Regions from separate parts of the Homo sapiens genome. Here all the other regions are linked to region 6. The links are contacts of gene promoters, found by promoter capture Hi-C in blood cells and fetal thymus (Javierre and others, 2016). All regions are on one chromosome and are shown on one strand. Each heading gives the region's core, a stretch centred on a gene start or on the middle of the fragment in contact. The rest is flanking DNA. Distances are from core to core; before and after follow the strand shown.

The links. The method cuts DNA at HindIII sites, captures the fragments that hold promoters and counts their contacts. A CHiCAGO score of 5 or more calls a contact.
Region 1: a contact is called between the fragment with the promoter of H2BC6-AS1 here and the fragment with the promoter of H2BC12 in region 6, in 17 of 17 cell types (naive CD8 T cells, naive CD4 T cells, activated CD4 T cells and 14 more). The highest score is 31.8, in naive CD8 T cells.
Region 2: a contact is called between the fragment with the promoter of BTN3A2 here and the fragment with the promoter of H2BC12 in region 6, in 15 of 17 cell types (activated CD4 T cells, naive CD8 T cells, M2 macrophages and 12 more). The highest score is 21.1, in activated CD4 T cells.
Region 3: a contact is called between the fragment with the promoter of H4C4 here and the fragment with the promoter of H2BC12 in region 6, in 17 of 17 cell types (non-activated CD4 T cells, total CD4 T cells, fetal thymus and 14 more). The highest score is 50.1, in non-activated CD4 T cells.
Region 4: a contact is called between a fragment that was not itself captured here and the fragment with the promoter of H2BC12 in region 6, in 10 of 17 cell types (erythroblasts, naive B cells, activated CD4 T cells and 7 more). The highest score is 12.8, in erythroblasts.
Region 5: a fragment that was not itself captured here is called in contact with the fragment with the promoter of H2BC12 in region 6 in 11 of 17 cell types (erythroblasts, total CD8 T cells, activated CD4 T cells and 8 more); the score reaches 7.8 in erythroblasts.
Region 7: a contact is called between a fragment that was not itself captured here and the fragment with the promoter of H2BC12 in region 6, in 1 of 17 cell types (M0 macrophages). The highest score is 5.8, in M0 macrophages.

The regions. Positions count from the first base shown.
Region 1 is chr6:26,171,391-26,174,090 of GRCh38, reverse strand. It overlaps H2BC6-AS1 (H2BC6 antisense RNA 1), which reads left to right and starts at 1,318. Exons shown (of 3, transcript NR_186648.1): 1 at 1,318-2,056. RefSeq lists an enhancer at 1,352-2,244. The HindIII fragment of the contact is 22,011 bases long and covers 1-2,700 here.
Region 2 is chr6:26,363,853-26,366,552 of GRCh38, reverse strand. BTN3A2 (butyrophilin subfamily 3 member A2) reads right to left here and starts at 1,355. Exons shown (of 11, transcript NM_007047.5): 1 at 1,201-1,355. RefSeq lists an enhancer at 1,348-1,397. The HindIII fragment of the contact is 4,055 bases long and covers 1-2,700 here.
Region 3 is chr6:26,187,791-26,190,490 of GRCh38, reverse strand. H4C4 (H4 clustered histone 4) reads left to right here and starts at 1,379. Exons shown (of 1, transcript NM_003539.4): 1 at 1,379-1,781. The coding sequence starts at 1,415. The coding sequence ends at 1,726. RefSeq lists enhancers at 1,191-1,370, 2,153-2,700. The HindIII fragment of the contact is 9,357 bases long and covers 1-2,700 here.
Region 4 is chr6:26,233,170-26,235,869 of GRCh38, reverse strand. It overlaps H1-3 (H1.3 linker histone, cluster member), which reads left to right and starts at 883. Exons shown (of 1, transcript NM_005320.3): 1 at 883-1,658. The coding sequence starts at 937. The coding sequence ends at 1,602. It also overlaps the pseudogene H2AC9P. RefSeq lists enhancers at 370-1,357, 1,271-1,680, 2,511-2,560. The HindIII fragment of the contact is 501 bases long and covers 1,185-1,685 here.
Region 5 is chr6:26,328,938-26,331,637 of GRCh38, reverse strand. It overlaps TRX-CAT1-4 (tRNA-iMet (anticodon CAT) 1-4), which reads left to right and starts at 1,266; the gene lies at 1,266-1,337. TRW-CCA3-2 (tRNA-Trp (anticodon CCA) 3-2) reads left to right here and starts at 123; the gene lies at 123-194. LOC101928743 (a long non-coding RNA gene) reads left to right here. Exons shown (of 3, transcript XR_241992.5): 2 at 2,551-2,628. The HindIII fragment of the contact is 1,422 bases long and covers 609-2,030 here.
Region 6 is chr6:27,145,564-27,148,263 of GRCh38, reverse strand. It overlaps H2BC12 (H2B clustered histone 12), which reads left to right and starts at 1,409. Exons shown (of 1, transcript NM_001312653.2): 1 at 1,409-1,903. The coding sequence starts at 1,466. The coding sequence ends at 1,846. H2AC12 (H2A clustered histone 12) reads right to left here and starts at 1,158. Exons shown (of 1, transcript NM_080596.3): 1 at 702-1,158. The coding sequence starts at 1,135. The coding sequence ends at 749. MIR3143 (microRNA 3143) reads right to left here and starts at 638; the gene lies at 576-638. RefSeq lists enhancers at 772-1,021, 1,352-1,811, 1,066-1,982, 2,402-2,511. The HindIII fragment of the contact is 2,078 bases long and covers 519-2,596 here.
Region 7 is chr6:26,292,690-26,295,389 of GRCh38, reverse strand. The region is part of intron 1 of LOC124901287 (a long non-coding RNA gene); the gene reads right to left. Among named protein-coding and RNA genes, the nearest start is that of TRR-TCG4-1, 5.6 kb to the left of the region's middle. The HindIII fragment of the contact is 3,127 bases long and covers 1-2,700 here.

The DNA of each region.
Region 1 (2,700 bases), core at 69-2,568, 970 kb after region 6:
AGTATTCTAAATCTGCCAGTTTAAGAAATTAATAAAGGAAGGCCCAGAGCAGTGGCTCACGCCTGTATTCCTAGCACTTTAGGAGGCTGAGGCAGGTGGATCACTTAATGTCAGGAGTTCAAGGCCAGCCTGGCCAATGGCGGCCTATCTTCTTCTGATAATACAAAACTTAGCCAGATGTGGTGGCACGCACCTGTAGTCCCTGTTACTTGGGAAAGTGAGGCAGAAGAATCGCTTGAACCTGGGAGGTAGAGGTTGTAATGAGCTTAGATCAGGGCACTGCACTCCAGCCTGGGAGACAGAGTGAGATTCCATCTCAAAATAAAAACTAAAATAATAAAAAATAAAATAAAATAAAATAAAATAAATAAAATAAAAAAGAGATTAATAAAGAAAAAACATGATCATCTCCAAAGATACTGCGAAAGCATTTAACAAAATATAACACTCTTTAATCATAAACACTTAACAGACTACAATGAGAAGAGAACTTCATAAGGAGGAGCTACAGCGAGTATAACACTTAATGGTGCCGTTTTGGAAGGATTCCCATAGAGGCGGAAGGAAGACAAGTGTGGTGAGAAAGTACTCCTATTCAACACGGCATCACAGGGTTTGGCCAATACCATGAGATAGGAACAGGCAGTCAGAAGAGCAAGGATTCAATAGGAAAAGATGATTATCTTTGAAAATAACATAATTGTCAAGGTAAAAGTTCACAAGAATCTATAAACAATTAGATCAAATAAGAATTGGAATTAGTGGGCATAGGCCAGGCGTTGTGGCTCACGCCTGTAATCCCAGCACTTTGGGAGGCCGAGGCGGGCGGATCACGAGGTCAGGAGATCGAGACCATCCTGGCTAACACGGTGAAACCCCGTCTCTACTAAAAAATACAAAAAAACTTAGTCGGGCGTGGTGACTGTAGTCCCAGCTACTCGGGAAGCTGAGGCAGGAGAATGGCGTGAACCCGGGAGGCAGAGCTTGCAGTGAGCCGAGACTGCGCCACTGTACTCCAGCCTGGGGGACAGAGCGAGACTCCGTTTCAAAAAAAAAAAAAAAAAAATTAAAGTCATATGAAGATTAATATGTAACATCTTCTTCGACTTAAATGTTCATTTTTTTCCTTCTGACTTTAGAAGAAATTAAAATATTTTCATGAGCCTCCAAAAGAACTGCGGACCCTAGACACCGTGCCTGCTGTTTAATGGAGTACGGCACTGCGTGTACCGGAAGATGATTTTTTTAAAAAAAAACTCAATTAGGAAATAATTATTCGCACACATTCATATACATACATACATACACTGAATCCTCACACGAAGAGCCCTACAGGCGTGAGAACAGTAAGGGAGATGCAAGAAAGGTCTCCTTGGAGTTGGGAGGCGTATTTACAGCTACTAGAGAAGGGGGAAGTGCCAGCTCCCCGAGAAGAAAGCAGGAGGATGCTGAGAGACTAAAGCTGAAATTTTCTGCCTGCTTCCTCACTCTTTTCGTTGGTTTCAGCCGTCTGAAAAACCCTTGTGAGAGGAGCAAAAAGGTCAAGGGAAGATTGTTGCCTTGCTCTCAGTCTTCAAAATTTTCGATCCTCCGTTTTTTTTGTTTTGAGACGCAGTCTCGCTCTGTCGCCTAGGCTGGAGTGCAGCGGCGCGATCTCGGTCACTGCAACCTCCGCCTCCCTGGTTCTAGCGATTCTTCTGCCTCAGCCTCCTGAGTAGCTGGGACTACAGGCGCGTGCCACCACACCCGGCTAATTTTTTTGTACTTTTGATAGGGACGGGGTCTCACGGTGTTAGCCAGGATGGTCTCTATCTCCTGAACTCGTGATCCGCCCGCCTCGGCCTCCCAAAGTGCTGGGATTACAGGCGTGAGCCACCGCGCCCGGCCGGTCCTCTGTTTTTAAACTGTAAAGGACTCCAGCGGATTGTTCGAAGTCTCCGATATCCCGCGATCTGGTGGCCGCAGAAGAAAGAGGCCGAGTCGGCGGGGACTGGGAACCACCAGTTAGCGGCCTACGGGCAACCTCCCGGACGCGCGCGCCGGGCCGACGTTAAACGTACGTGACGCCCTATGCGGGAGCCGGATGGGCGTAACGGGGCGGCGGCGTAACGTGTGGCTCTGTGGTTAGGGCACGGAGGGGCGTGGCCGGACGGCCCTATGAGGGGGCCGGCGTTTTTGGCGAGGGTTGATGGGATGACCCTATGAGGGAGCCTGCGTGGAGGGGCACGACCGGCCCCAAGACTCCTTTTCATGGCCGCATAGCCGCACCGGGAGTAGGATGACCGCTGTTATTTTTCAGGACCTCTCATCTTCGGTTTGAAATTCTTTGCTTTTTTCCGGCTTTGTGTGGCTATTTAGTATTAGCATTTTAGGGCAGTTTCATTTCCTTTAAAGTAAAACTCTCCAAAGTGGTCTCCGGACCAGCAGCATCAGCATCACCTGCATAATTTAGAAGTACAAATTATCAGGTCCTACCTCAGATCTAATGCATCAGAAAAGTTTTGTGACTGCTTCAAAACATTGTTTCCCTTAATTCAGATGCTGGAGGAGACCTTTCAAATGGCAGCTTAGCATAAGCTAACCAGTTTTTAACTTCAGGTTCATTACCAAAGCCACATCAGTGCTTAGGCCTTATCCACTCAGACCTCCTTGATGCTGGAAAGTAAAGTGAAAATAGGTAGATAGATGTCTAGAAAGGGG
Region 2 (2,700 bases), core at 106-2,605, 780 kb after region 6:
CAGAGGGAGAACTTTTATTTTTTAGGTTATTTATTATTCATTCTTTCTACTATAGACAATTTTGCCAAAGAAAAAAATATAAAGGAATAAAACCTTAAATACTCTGTAGTTATATACTTTGCTAATGGAAGTGGAAATGTTTCTGGAAGCATTTGGCCATGTACACATGGCAAGTGCCTTTAAAATGTTGTATTATTTGCCCCCAAAATTCCAACTATAAAAGTTAGTGTTGAAGAAAAAAATTTAGAGATTGATGCAAATATTTATGGATAAGGCTGTTCAATCTAGTAAAATCTACAGTAACAAAATGTAGAAACTGAAAAATCCAAAATAAAGAGTTTTAAAAATAATTCGGGTTTTTTATTTGTTTGTTTGTTCTTTTTTCTTCTTTAGGAGCGGCTTTCTGAGTCAGAGTAGGCTCACAGAGACTCCCAATAATTATATATTCATACAATGTAGTAGCTTGTAACCATGGGAAATCATGCTTTAGGTTTTGGGGAAATGATGAATGGAAAGAAAACCAAGTACTATCCCTAAAAGATACCAAAAATGGTTTAATATAAGGATCCAGTGTTATTAAAATTATAAAGAATTTCACTTAATTAAAATTATGATTCCTAATGGTTACATGGAACATGTTTTATGACTGAACCATGCATTGTTTGTCTATTCCCCACCTGTTGAATATGTATGTTGGTTCAGATTTTACTATATTATAAATACTTCTGTAATAAACACATTTACATATAAATCTATGAGGCACATCTCTTTTTTCTTCTTCTTCTTCAGAATTTCTCAGAATAGATGCCTTGAGTTGGCCAGAACAGATTTTAAGGGTTTTTTGTTTGTTTGTTTGTTTGCCCTTTTCTGACCACAATACGTTAAGAACATGCAGTTGGAATATTTCTTCATTCATGTTGTCTCCCTTTCCTTCCACTAAATCCCAACCTCTGCAGTTCCTTATACTTTGCAGTACTTCTCCCGTCTTCCCACGTGCCCATATGTGCATGTGCGAGTGTGCACATGTACACATGTACACACACACACACACACACACACACACACACACACACACACAGGCACTGCACCCCTTTCTCTGGGAGAGTACTCTCCCTGCATGCCCACTCACCACTCTCAGCGATTCAGCCCCGCTCCTCCCATGCGTTGTAGCCCAGGCTCTAATCAATTTCCTGCACTTACCCCTTGGTATTCCCATTGGAGAATCAGAGCCCACAGAATAAAGACGGTCAATCAATAATTCTCCATTCTTTCTATTATGGCTTAGCCTCTCATCCGGAAGAAAGGAAAAAGAGAAAGCAAATATTGTCTTCTCACCATGAGAAACAGTAAGAGTCGCTCTTTGGAAGAATTAGTTTTTTGATTGGCTCAGAGGTGATGTTTCTCATCAGTTGCTGGGCAGAAACCACTGAGGAACGTTGAAATGAAAACTGAAAGTACATTGAATTGTACACGTTGAGGAAAAACTCCAGCCCTACCTCCCTTAGTGTTTGTGTTTCTGTGTTTATCTATTTGAATCATTCTTGTGCGTGGATGTATATAAGTATTTCTTTATATTCACCTGTCTCGTGTCTTTTACATGGTAATAGAAATATTAGCAGAATGGAGTAGGAAAGTAAAAAAATTTAATGTGCAAAGAGAGGAAGATGTGCACTAATTAAGATGCTTCTGTGGCAGTTTGCTTGCATGTAGATAGGTACGTAGAAGAGGAGGATCTTTTTTACAGAGCCTAATAAAGGTATGAATGGAAAGAAAATGAGACAAACTGCACCTCTTTAAGAACTTCTGGCATTTAGGCTTAGGATATGGTATCAAATAATATAATTTTTCTGATTTCCAGAGGCAGTGCTGCTTGACATTGTTTTACCTTTCCCAGGAAATTCTTACTGCAGATCTTTCTGAGCATCTTCATTCACCCTCAGCTCCTGGTTTGTGCTATATTGTATTTTCTTGGGTATTTGTTTCTCACGCTGCCAGTGGAGTACATATTCTCTGAAGCTAGACACTCCATAGGCTGTGGTCTCTGTAAGGCTCGTTTCCTGTACACCATCTCTGTAAGGAGTTTATGGGACAATCTTGTTCTCCCTGTGGCTTACGACCTCAAAACACACTTTTTTGGGCTGCAAGCCAGAAATCTCCTAGAGCTAATATGTGACTGGAGCTGATGGGATTTGATTATATTGCAACAGTTTGAATTTAGGCTGTGTGGTATCTGCTTGAGATGGCTGGTTGCTTCTGCAGCGTGCATGCCCCCTTCTTCTTAGTGACAAGGCCTAATTTTCTGGGGTACTGCATCCTGCTCTTCCCCCTTGAAGATAGGGCAGGCCAAGGGACTAAGTTGGAGCCAGCGGTTTGTAGGTGAAAGTTGTGGGCTTGTACTTCTCCCAGAAATCCTTCAAAGGGAGGCCAAAATAGCTGGGAGTGTGAGGGTACACTCTCCCTTCTTCCTTCTTCCTCTTGCCTAGAACATGGACTTTGGACCCGGAGGTGCAGTAGCCCACCCTGGGACCATGAGGCAGCCTTGAGGTTGGAAGCCACACACTGGGACAGCAGAGAATGAAGTCAGAAGCAGGCTGGGGCATGAATGACATATCTGAGGTGCCAGATCAGCCCTGGACTGTCACCATCTAAATTTATTTAAAAAATTTTTTCTTTTAAAATATTTTATTATATATTAGTACT
Region 3 (2,700 bases), core at 130-2,629, 960 kb after region 6:
CCACCCAAAGGACCTGGAACTTTTTATGGGGATTAATGATGAGTTAAGTTTTTAATTATTTATTATTTTGAGGAGTTCTCGAAATCAGATTTTAGCAAATTAGAATACTGTCTCTCATCCCTTTAGAAGGGTGAACCTTAAGGATAGGAATTGAAAACACCCACAATATTGTACTATACCATAATTAATGTTTAGTCATTGCTTATTTGGAATCTAGACACTATTCTAAGCATTTTGATAGGATTATCTGTTTCAACTTAACAAATACTTACAAGTTAGATTTTTAAAAATACATTTACAACAAGGAAACTTAGTATAGCTTGCCCAGGGTCACCCCCACAGCATGTATGTCAAGCAGGCTGTCTCTATGATAGTTTGGAGGGATACTATGATGCCAATTTGCTGGAGTAATAGAATATGGTGAATGATGCAGTGCTAGCTACAATCTGTCCATGATTAAAGGCACAATCAAAGCATAAATTTTCATAAATTTCAGCCCAACAAGGTTTTCTTTTACGGGTGTACATAGTCATGTTTTCAATCGGCCCTCGGTGATCTTATCCTAATTTGACCTCTAAATGTGTAACTTTCATATACTTTTAGTTCCCTCAGTAGCACTATCTAGCCTGCATGCCAAAGAGCCCTGCTTGGTTAACTAGGAATGCATAAATCAATAAAAATAATCTCAGAGACAATAAAGATATGAGTTACTTAAAATACTTTGAAAGCACCTTATGGCCCGGCGCGGTGGCTCACGCCTGTAATCCTAGCACTTTGGGAGGCCGAGGCAGGTGGATCACAAGGTCAGGAGTTCGAGACCATCCTGGCCTATGGTGAAACCCCGTCTCTACTAAAAAAATACCAAAATTAGCTGGGCATGGTGGCGGGCGCCTGTAACCCCAGCTACTCGGGAGGCTGAGGCAGGAGAATTGCTTGAATCCGGGAGGCAGAGGATGCAGTGAGCCTAGATCGTGCCACTGCATTCCAGCCTGGGCAACAGAGCAAGAACCCGTCTCAAAAAAAAAAAAAAAAAAAAAAAAAAAAAGCACCCTGTGAGGGAAACAGTACTAATTATTTGATATTCTGGGAAAAGTGGGGGACAATTGTCAGGCTTCTTTGTCGAAAGTTTATGAACTGATGGCTCAGTTAATGGCTGCAAGTATAGTGTGTGTGTATATATATATATATACCTAGCAGTATTTATTAAATCCCAGCTGAGGCTCTTTTGTTGCCTCAGGCCCCTCTTGGTCTCCTCCAGTCTGAGCAAGGGAGAATTGCACAGAAGGGCGGGAACTGACTGTGGTTCCCGCCCCTTCTCATGAGGTTTTCAAACAGGTCCGTCATGCTATTATAAAAGTGCTGCGTGGCTCTGCCAGACGTATTGCGTTACAGATTTAACAGCTGTGGTTTCAAGATGTCTGGCCGCGGTAAGGGCGGAAAGGGTCTAGGTAAGGGTGGCGCCAAGCGTCACCGTAAGGTATTGCGTGACAATATCCAAGGAATCACCAAGCCCGCTATCCGCCGCCTGGCTCGCCGCGGCGGCGTCAAGCGTATTTCTGGCCTCATTTATGAGGAAACTCGCGGAGTGCTGAAAGTTTTCCTGGAAAATGTAATCCGCGATGCTGTCACCTACACGGAACACGCCAAACGCAAGACAGTCACAGCCATGGACGTGGTGTACGCGCTCAAGCGCCAGGGACGCACTCTTTATGGCTTCGGCGGCTGAGCTTACCTCTACAGTACACTACCGCAAAACCAACGGCCCTTTTCAGGGCCACCTATCCACTCAGGAGAAAGAGTAGTAGTCACTGCTAAAAGTGTAGTTTCACGTGTTTAGTAGCTCCGGTTTTCAAGTTAAATGGTCTTATTACGCCTTGGCTTCATATCTTACTGGCCGGTGAGGATAGTGTATTAAAGTTTATTTTCACTCTTGCTGTGTCGCCCATGCTGGAGTAATCAATGGCGCGATCTCGGCAATCTGCAGTCTCCGCCTCCCGGGTTCAAACGATTCTTGTGCCTCAGCCTCTTGCGTAGCTGGGGCAACCGGCTTGCGCCACCAACACCCGGCTAATCTTTGTATTTTTTGCAGCGATGGGTTTTCGCCATGTTTCCCAGGCTGGTCTTGAACTCAAGCTCAAAAGAGATTTCCCTCCTCCGCCTCCGAAAGTGCTGGGATTACAGGCGTGAGCCACCACGCTTGGCCTGTGTTTTCTGTATTTCTGTAAGGAAACATGGCAAACTGCTGCTAACATTCTTCATGGCTATCAGAGAAACAAGGTAGCAAAGACTGTAGCTGCTGGAGAAACAAGGTAGCAAAACCTGTATCTCAGAAGGCAAGTGGTAAAGGCTGATGCTGCCGTGAAGAATAGTGAAAAAAATGGAGGTAGTTACTAGTTCCTACCAAGGCATTGTTATATGAAAGGAAGACAAAATGGCATTCAGATGGTTATTGGTGTGGGGGGATGGGAGGTGTGTTGGAGGCACTTGACTGGCAAATACATTCTTTAAAGAAGAAAGTAGTAATTACCGTGGGAGAAACAACCATGAAAGTACATAAGATTCAACATTTTTTAGTGGAATGGGGAGAGGCCAACTTGTTTGGTTCTGTTCCTCTGAGCTGCCTTCCATCCAGATCTACTGATTTTCTATTGTTGAATTTAAAAGGACTTTTTATTTATGTACCCGTGGCCAATTTAAAGG
Region 4 (2,700 bases), core at 186-2,685, 910 kb after region 6:
GGGACACAAACATGTACACAAGCTCTCAATGCTCACAGTTGCCAAAATGATGTTGGCCTGCCATTCTATTATTTGTTGGTTCAGTTTTCTTTTTTGGGGATGTGGTAGTTGATCTTTAATGCCCATTCTAGATCGGAAAAATCCATGATCCTAACTTTTAAGAGAAGGTTGGTAACTCTACTTAGGACTTTTTTTTCTGTAAGAGGAATAATGTAGCCTCACCCTTATCTTTCTGGAAATGTTTAAACCACTGAAATATGGAGATCAAATCCAGCTTACACACTGGTAACTCAAATACTATTTTTTTTTTTAAACTATCTTTTCTAAACTAATCACCCCTCTTGTACATAGAACTTTCTACCTCAGTGCCAATTCCTAGAGGTTGATGCAAACAGCTCGCCAGAGAGCCTGTGCTATTGTTCCTGCGAAAAAACCCAATTTCCCTGCACATTTGGATAAAAATGAGTTTATCTATATAAAGTTGAGACGGTAAGAATTCACAGAACAATGCCCTGGAAGAGAGATTTGCAAATGAAAGAGGGAGAAATAGTATTTTTAAGGAAAACATGAAAGTTGTCTCGATTTGACCGAAGTTTGAAAGAGAGTTGGGGGAATAAGAAAAGTTTCAAGATGCCGGTTTTAAAACTATGCATAGAAACAAAGGCAGGAATGAAGCCCGAACTCTCTCGGATCAGTTTCCCCCAAGTCTCTAATTATTTCATGCCCAGATTTCTTATATTTTTACTCTTTTTTAAGGGGCAACAAACACAGCAGCGCGGTAGATACGAGGAGTCCTTTTCCAGCAGCGCCGCGCATGGAGCAAGGAACCAATCATCACTCAGCGTCTCTCTATATAAACCCTCAGCCTCCCTCGTAGAGGACATGCTGTTCTGACAGTTTGAGATTACTTATTGTCTTTTCTGGGAAGACAAAAACATGTCGGAGACTGCTCCACTTGCTCCTACCATTCCTGCACCCGCAGAAAAAACACCTGTGAAGAAAAAGGCGAAGAAGGCAGGCGCAACTGCTGGGAAACGCAAAGCATCCGGACCCCCAGTATCTGAGCTTATCACCAAGGCAGTGGCAGCTTCTAAGGAGCGCAGCGGCGTTTCTCTGGCCGCGCTTAAGAAAGCGCTTGCGGCTGCTGGCTACGATGTAGAAAAAAACAACAGCCGTATCAAGCTTGGCCTCAAGAGCTTGGTGAGCAAAGGTACTCTGGTGCAGACCAAAGGTACCGGTGCTTCTGGCTCCTTCAAACTCAACAAGAAAGCGGCTTCCGGGGAAGGCAAACCCAAGGCCAAAAAGGCTGGCGCAGCCAAGCCTAGGAAGCCTGCTGGGGCAGCCAAGAAGCCCAAGAAGGTGGCTGGCGCCGCTACCCCGAAGAAAAGCATCAAAAAGACTCCTAAGAAGGTAAAGAAGCCAGCAACCGCTGCTGGGACCAAGAAAGTGGCCAAGAGTGCGAAAAAGGTGAAAACACCTCAGCCAAAAAAAGCTGCCAAGAGTCCAGCTAAGGCCAAAGCCCCTAAGCCCAAGGCGGCCAAGCCTAAGTCGGGGAAGCCGAAGGTTACAAAGGCAAAGAAGGCAGCTCCGAAGAAAAAGTGAAACTGGCGGGACGTTCCCCTTTGAAAATTTTAAACGGCTCTTTTCAGAGCCACCCACAGGTCTCAGTCAAAAGAGCTGAAGCTTTTTGGAGGGGGGAGTGGGGTGGAGAGGGGTGCGGGTGCTGCGGTGTTGTGCGGCCACGGTCTATCCTAGTCGTGCTGGTTGGGGGTCAGTTATTAACAGCTCCCAGCAGCCTGGGCGCAAGGATCCTTCCGTCTCAGTCTCAGCCACAGTCACCGGATAGCTAAGGCTACTTGAGCCACCAGGTCCTACTTTTTCTTCAAATTCCCGCGGTGGTGTGTGATTGGCCGGCCGATTTCTGTTAAAGCGCGGCGCTTAAAAGTGGCCCTGAAAAAATTTTATTTCTGACACAGGGATGTGGTGTAAATGCTTTAGTTTACTTTAGCGTTGAGGTGACTTCCTGAGCACATCCCGTCCTGGTTGTGAGCAGTACGTGGCATGCCCAAGGTGCTTCCGGCCCACGATCTTGTGCAGCTGGTCGTTGAGAATGGCCAACTGCTGGTGGTGCCCGGTGTCTGTCTTTTCGCAGGCCTTTGATAAGCCTTAGCTTTGGGATATCGGCCCTCAGGTACTGTATTTGTAAATAGTGTGGGGGCTGCACTGCGTGACGAGGTGGCTCTCCTGTAATCCCAGCATTTTGGGAGGCCGAGGCGGGGGCATCACGAGGTCAGGAGTTCGAGGCCAGCCTGAAGAACATGGTGAAGCCCCATCTCTGCTAAAAAAAAATACAAAAATTAGTCAGGCGTGGTGCCGCGCGCCTGTAATTCCAGCTACTTGGGGGCTGAGGTAGAAAATCACTTGAACCCGGGAGGCGGAAGTTGTAAGCCGAGATCGCGCCACTTGCACTCCGGCCTGGGCGATAGAACGAGACTCCGTCTCAAAATAAAAAGTGTGCCCATTGTCTTTTTCTGTCAGTGGCCAGCGTCTCCAGGACTTATTTTCCCAGGGGCTCTCTTGCTTGTTCATTTATTTCTGCCTACTCTTAACCTCCTAGCACTGCCGCCAGGTAACACTAGCATGCTGGTCCAACCCGCTCGGAGTAGCTGTATTTGCGGAGGACGCGGTGTATTAGCCCTA
Region 5 (2,700 bases), core at 70-2,569, 820 kb after region 6:
TTACCGAGAGGGAAGCAGCTAGGCACTATTTTGTATCTGTTAATAGCTGCCTGGTCTTCACCAGTACCGAAATTATTTTCATGAATCAGATTGACAGGTAAATAAAACGTAGGTGTCCCGGAGACCTCGTGGCGCAACGGTAGCGCGTCTGACTCCAGATCAGAAGGTTGCGTGTTCAAATCACGTCGGGGTCAACAGTTTTTAGCTCGCTGGCTCAGATAACTGTATGGCGGGGAGTACATTACATATTACAGGGGGAAAAAAGTTGCTTTTCCTGCTTCTCTTAGGCACTTGTATACTCAGTTACTTTAGCCTCCTCAAAACTACCCCCTTCTCTTTTTTTAGTAGGAAGATATATACAGGAATATGTTATGGTATTTTGGGGCTTATTTCCGGGTTTATAGAGACGTTTTCACTCTTTTATTGCAAACATTCTGAATTATACTCTTCAGCAACTCATCCCTATTGTTAAACCCTCCTGGACTTCTCTCCATACTCACTCCCACGCCCGCGGCCTTATCTTTTCATCCATGTCTGTCTCTCCAACCTTCAGAAGCTTAGCAGATCTTCGCAGAGACGTAGTCTGGTTTGAGTGGATGACCTAAGCTTACCTGCTTCATATTTGGATCAGCTGTTCCAGGCTAAAGCGATTCCATTGAACTTCCCTGGATCTCTGCGATTTCCTCAACCCTCCCTGCAAATCACGGAAGAAGTCACTTGATTTCCAGAGGCAGAAAACCTGAATGCAGTTACTTTCTCAAATTCATACAGGGAATGAACCATTACATCAGAGAAGGCTAGCTATTCCGTGAACCCCCTTATAGTATTATCTGAAAATGTGCATGAATGTGCCGTTTTTTTCCCCACATGTGGCTCAAGACCCCCTACAGATTATGAATTAGCAAATTACAACATGGAAAAAAGGAAAAGTACGTTTATTTCTTCAGAAGTGTTTAAATTTTTATAACTTACAATGACTTTAAAACATGACATTTGAAATATTAGCAGATTTTCTCTTATGTATTTACTGTACACATTCACACAATACACAGTGACAAACATTACATCGGAGAAGTGTACCTAAAATAACCTTTTTCCTATTTCTTATTAACTCTTTTCTTAGTAGTAGTCTAAGCCTATGGCCATATTACGAACAGATTACTGCTCTGGAAAAAAAAAAAAGAGAGAAGACATAATTTTGAGATTTGGAAACTTGACACGCTAGAAAAAAGGTGACTATTAACTCTGGGACCTGTGACTCGCGTAGCAGAGTGGCGCAGCGGAAGCGTGCTGGGCCCATAACCCAGAGGTCGATGGATCGAAACCATCCTCTGCTAGGGAGCGTTTTGTGGATTTGTTTTTCCCCCTTCCAAAAATAGATCTACCTCATAGGAGGAGGAAATTGGTATAATTGTCATGGACACCGTAAGGGAACTTATTTTGATTTGCACCTCTCTCAGAGATCTATATCTCTGGTTGCAATACATTACTATCCTAATTAGATTAAAAATAACAAAAGCAGTAGTTTTAGCTTTGATTGTTTGAACAGTTAATAGATACCATGCACTATTCCAAGTTCTGAATCATTTATTCCTCGCAATTCTACGAAGTAAATACTTGCTATTACTCTTACTTTACAAATGAGACAAATTGGGGTTTGTCTGCAAGTTGGGGTTTGCAGAGGTTAACTAACTTGCCCAAAGTCATGCAGCTAGTAAATGGTAGAGCAAAGATAAAACTCTAAACCGCCGTTCTGCATAATTACAAACACTAATATTTACAGCAAACTTCAAAAGTTATTTCAGCTATTCCTTCCGAGTTTTATTAGTAGGACATGAACTCACCTAGTATTATTAAATCCCTAGTAAAATGAGAGGTACCATATGTGACATATAGTAACATGTCCAGATTTGAGCAGGCTGTAGGTGACACTTTTTTTCCTGTTCTTATTTTTCTGTTTACTCAAACTAATACAGATGCATAAGGAGACATGTTTAAAGTAGGATGAAATCTACAGACTGTGCAAAGCTTTTGAACTTTTGGAGAAATGTTTAGACAACTGACGAAATGCTTGGGGTTGAATTAATGAAAAGTGTCTAGAAGCTTAAGCAGTAAAACAACAAGAAAAGACAGTTATGTACTAATGCCGGGGAAAAATAAAAATTGCAAGGAAAGGAAAACTTAACAATGTATTTCTTTGCCCACTTGTTGAATTATGTTTATAAAGTTGTCATATTTTAAGCTACAAATATTAAAGTATCATGTATTGTGCTATAACCATATGAGAAGACTTAGAAAGGGAGCATGTGTGTGTCGGGGGTCCTGGGGTGTGAAGAAGAAAGTGAACCAGTTACTCCTCTTATATAAAGTCAACAGAAGGTCCATACAAACATATTATTTAGAGATATGTAGGTAAATAATTTTAAAATAAGCTATTTAAATGTTTAAAAAGTAGGCTTAACCACTCAGCCACGACTATAGGTGCCAAAAGTTTTCTTAAACGTCGTACATGTTATTATATGTCACATATTGTACCTCTCGCTTTACCAGGAATTTAATAGCTGAGTTCACGTCCTGCCAACAAAACTTAGAAGGAATCAACAAACTTCAAGTTCAGGCGCATATGTGGTAAGCTGAGAATGTTCTTTGGGTGTTTTCTATAATGCAAATCAGGAATATGTTTCAATAACTTTAAAAATT
Region 6 (2,700 bases), core at 160-2,659:
CCACTTAAGAATCAGGCTGCCCTTTCTTGCTTTTCAAGAATACTTAGAATTGCAAAATTTGCCTTTAAAGAATGGCAAGTATATCCCATTTTTATGGCTGTTTGACAACACTATTAATGTAATAGAATTATTACACTGGAGGCCGGGCGCTGTGGCTCACGCCTGTAATCCCAGCACTTTGGGAGGCCGAGGCGGGCGGATCACCTGAGGTCAGGAGTTCGAGACCAGCCTGGCCACCATGGTGGAACCCCGTCTCCACTAAAAATACAAAAAAACTAGCCGGTCGTGGTGGTGTGTGCCTGTAATCCCAGCTATTCGGGAGGCCGAGACAGGAGAATCGCTTGAACCTGGGAGGTGGAGGTTGCAGTGAGCCGAGATCGCGCCGCGCCACTGCACTCCAGCCTGTTGGAGACTCCATCTCAAAAAAAAAAAAAAAAAAAAAAAAACCACTGGAATTAGTAAATAGATTTCAGGGATTTGTACGTTTGATTTCACTTATTACCCCTGCTGAATAAGCTTCTCCGGAGTATCCTACAACAACTTTTGGGTCTTCATTGCTTTCCAGTGGGTTAATTTAGAAACATTGTAAAGAGTTGCTCCAGCCCAACCGCGAAAGAAGCGCTTTACAATGTTATCTAGCGAAGCAAACATGAAGTGAAACAAACATGACTGTGTCCAGCTTTCTCTAAGACAGTGTAGAATGGCTCTGAAAAGAGCCTTTGTTTTCCAGTTTTCACAACCTCGCTCCTTATTTGGCCTTATGGTGGCTCTCAGTCTTCTTAGGCAGCAGCACGGCCTGGATATTGGGCAAGACACCACCCTGCGCGATGGTGACTTTGCCCAGCAGCTTGTTGAGCTCCTCGTCGTTGCGGATGGCCAGTTGGAGGTGACGCGGGATGATACGGGTCTTCTTGTTGTCGCGGGCCGCATTGCCAGCCAGCTCCAGGATCTCAGCGGTCAGGTACTCCAGCACCGCAGCCAGGTACACTGGCGCGCCGGCTCCAACCCGCTCGGCATAATTACCCTTGCGGAGCAGGCGGTGCACTCGGCCCACGGGGAACTGAAGCCCAGCCCGAGAAGAGCGGGTCTTGGCCTTGGCGCGAGCTTTACCGCCTTGCTTGCCACGTCCAGACATACTGGTCACAACTTACTGAAAGTAGCCAACGAGGAAAGGCAGCGCCTTTTATAAACACTATTGGGCGCGAAAAAGAAGATATGTCATTGGTTAGGGTTGTAGCTTAGTTTTAACCAATGGAAGTACGTCTTTTGGATTTGCAGATTGGGTTGATTGGGTATAACTAACCTCTGACGTCACCCTAATAACCACCAATCAGATACAGGACTTTCACTCTTCACCTTATTTGCATGAGAGGTCCTATATAAAAACGACTCCTGGTACCTTGCTCCCATTACTTCCCGTTTTCTCGATCTGCTGCTCGTCTCAGGCTCGTAGTTCGCCTTCAACATGCCGGAACCAGCGAAGTCCGCTCCCGCGCCCAAGAAGGGCTCGAAGAAAGCCGTGACTAAGGCGCAGAAGAAGGACGGCAAGAAGCGCAAGCGCAGCCGCAAGGAGAGCTACTCCGTATACGTGTACAAGGTGCTGAAGCAGGTCCACCCCGACACCGGCATCTCCTCTAAGGCCATGGGAATCATGAACTCCTTCGTCAACGACATCTTCGAACGCATCGCGGGTGAGGCTTCCCGCCTGGCGCATTACAACAAGCGCTCGACCATCACCTCCAGGGAGATCCAGACGGCCGTGCGCCTGCTGCTGCCCGGGGAGTTGGCCAAGCACGCCGTGTCCGAGGGCACCAAGGCCGTCACCAAGTACACCAGCGCTAAGTAAACTTGCCAAGTAAGCGTCTTAAAGCCCAACCCCAAAGGCTCTTTTAAGAGCCACTTAAATTATCGATATTAGAGCTGTAAACACGTGTTCCTAATCCAGGCTTAAATTCGGGCGATCTTTTTAAAGGGATTATCATGATCTTATCACACTGAGTAATGCATGCAGTGCTTGTAATCGAGTCTGGCTAAGGAGAAGCCACATACACTTTGTTAGTACTGAGTGAGGAATATGGCGCCTAAAAAATTAGGGATGTGCAGGAAACTTGTGTTAACAGAAAGTGCTTCCTGGCTCTTGGCGCGAAAATGGATACTTCCGTTGTGTCGAGTGCTGTGACTTCCTGTTAGAACTTGTTGAAAGCCTATTGTGTCACGTGTACTTTCCACCATGTAATGGCGTTCTAACGTGAGTTTATATATTAGTAAATTTGGTTCCCGATGGCGTTCCAGTACGTATGGCTTTCGCTCGAGCAGTTACCTTATTTAACCTCTTCTAGGCTGTACCCAGCTCTGCCTTGCTTTGCTTCCCCCTCACCCCCTGATTCCATCTCTGCAGCCCACGGGACATCGGGAAGATGCCAGACCACCAGGCAGGATAGTCTGCAAGGGTAAGGGGAGGAGCACAGCTTTTCTCAGGAGTGAAGAAACGGAACATGAAATCATCACGGAGATTTTTGGAATAGTTTACTAGTTTTTAAGGCATGTTCAGCGTCAATTGGTCCAATCAGTAATTTTTCCTTTTGACAAGAAAGCTTATAGAAAAGGAAAATGAAAAGCAAGTAGATTCAGAGGGGAGACAACAGACAGACTAGAGACAGTCCGCCCCGAAGCAAGAAGTTGGAGTAGAGGAGAAGGGAA
Region 7 (2,700 bases), core at 114-2,613, 850 kb after region 6:
TGTTCTGAATCTCAAAAATTGAAAGAATCTTTTGTCTCACCCACAGCATGCATTGAAAATGATAAACAGGAGGCCAGGCACAGTGGCTCACGCCTGTAATCCCAGTACTTTGGGAGGCCGAGGTGGGCGCATCGTGAGGTCAGGAGATTTGAGACCATCCTGGCTAACACAGTGAAACCCCATCTCTACTAAAAATGCAAGGAAATTAGCCAGGCGTGGTGGTGGGTGCCTGTAGTCCCAGCTACTTGGGAGGCTGAGGCAGGAGAATGGCGTGAACCCGGGAGGCGGAGCTTGCAGTGAGCTGAGATCGTGCCACTGCACTCCAACCTGGGTGACAGAGCGAGACTCTGTCTCAAAAAAAAAAAAAAAAGAAAAGAAAAGAAAATGATAAACAGGAAAGGACGAAAATTGGCCTGTACCATCCCCCCAATAGCAGAAACATCTATACCGCCTCCTTCAGTAGCAGAAAGAGACCCCAACACAAAGAATTCTCTGCGCTGCTGCCATAGCTGGAGAGCCCCTAGGACCTTGCGCTTTTCCTATTTCCGTAAGGCCCAATCTGAATAATCCACAGCAGTTTACTTATGAACACACCCCGGTAGAGTTTAAGTTGTTGAAGGAATTAAAAGCTAGTGTAGTTAATAATGGAATACAGAGCCCATTTACTTTAGGATTGCTAGAATCTGTACTCGGTGCTATGTGCCTTCCAGCCTTTGATATAAAGCATTTGGCTCACACTTGTTTGTCTGGTAGTGCATATCTGACATGGAATTTAAACTGGCTAGAACTGTGTGCAGACCAGACTAGACAGAATCGTGCTGCTGGACACGGGGACATTACAGAGGATATGCAACTGGGTAATGGCCCTTATTCAGATCTGCTGCGACAATTGACACTCCCAGGCACTGCTTACAAGCAGTCTGCCTTGGCTGCTAAACGCGCCTGGGACACCATTCCAGAGCAAGGAGTCCCAGTACAATCTTTTCTACAAGTTATGCAAGGGTCGCAGGAGTCCTATGCACATTTTGTTGTACAATTACAAGAGGCAGTGAGGCATCAGATTCCTCATACCGCTGCTGCAGAAATGCTTACTTTGACTCTAGCTTTTGAAAATGCAAGTGCAGATTGTAAACGTGCTCTGGCACCTGTGAGGTCTGCAAAGATCTTAGGAAAATTTCTCAAAGCCTGTCAGGATGTGGGAACTGAACTCCATCATTCTACAATGTTGGCTCAAGCAATGGCTAATTTAGTAGTAACAAATCTAGAAAGGGCCAAGGGTCAAGCCCTAAAGTAGGAAAATGTTATAATTGTGGAAAAATTGGACATTTCAAAAAAGAATGCCATCAGACCTCTGGGCAGAGAGGATCTTATAATGCAGTTCCCCCAGACAGAAAAAATGCCAGGACTTTTCACTCGTTGTAATAAAGGAAATCATTGGGTTAATCAATGCCGCTCAAAATTTCATCAGAATAGCACCCCCCTGTCGGGAAACGAGAAGGGGGCCTGGATCCGGGCCCCTCAAACAATGAGGGCATTCCCCATCCAGGCCACAGCCCCATTTCAGGGATGGGTTCCCAGAAGAACATTGATTCCCTCTCCCCAGGAACACCCAGAAGCACAGGATTAGATCTTCCAGTCAGAGAACGGGTTACATTTGTTGGAGGAGACAAACCCACGAAGATTCCCACTGGTATTTGGGGACCTTTGCCAACAGGATATATGGGATTAATTTTGGGCAAAAGCCGTCTTAACTTACAGGGCATTACCATGGTCCCCGGAGTTGTTCACTGTGATTATGAAGGAGAAATTCAAGTAGTAGTAATGTCACAAGATCTTTGGGTTTTTGAACTGGGAGAATATACTGCTCAACTATTGCTTATTCCCTGCAAGTTGCACCCTTCCCCATGAAAGGAAAAACGAGGGAATCAAGGATTTGGAAGTACAACTAGGCGGTAAATTTATCTATCACAACCCATAGCATTTAATCGACCCACCTGTACAGTGCAAATTAAAGGAAAGAAGTTCTATGGGCTTATGGATACGGGAGCTGATGTGTTAGTAATATCCAAACACTATTGGCCCACCATCTTGACCCCTGCAATTAACTTCTACATCCTTAGTGGGACTAGGAAAGCTCAAAGTGTTCAGTGGAGTGCTGAGATTTTATCCTGTCTCAGACCACATGGACAGTCATGTACTTTTCAACCTTATGTTGCAAATATAGCTGTTAATCTATGGGGCCGAGATTTACTGACAGCATGGGACATGAGACTTAAAAAGGAAACTATTGATAATCCAGGATTTAAAATGTTAAAGAAAATGGGATTCAGAGTGGAAAAGGCTTAGGAAAGCCCCTGCAGGGAAACCCTGATCCAATATCAATAACTGGACAAAACAGAAAAGGGCTAGGTCATCAGGATTTTTGGTGGGGGTCATTGGTATTTCTCCTCCACCCACTGCTTTGCCGCTAGAGTGGCTGACTGACAAACCTGTGTGGGTGGATCAATGGCCCCTATCACAGGAGAAACTGATGCAACTCCATCAGCTAGTGAGAGAGCAACTGGAAGCAGAACATACAGAATAGTCAGCCCCTGGAATTCACCTGTATTTGTGATCCAAAAATGTCAGGAAAATGGCAACTGCTACATGATTTGAGAGCTATTAAATGCACAGATTAAACCAGTGGGTGCATTACAGCAA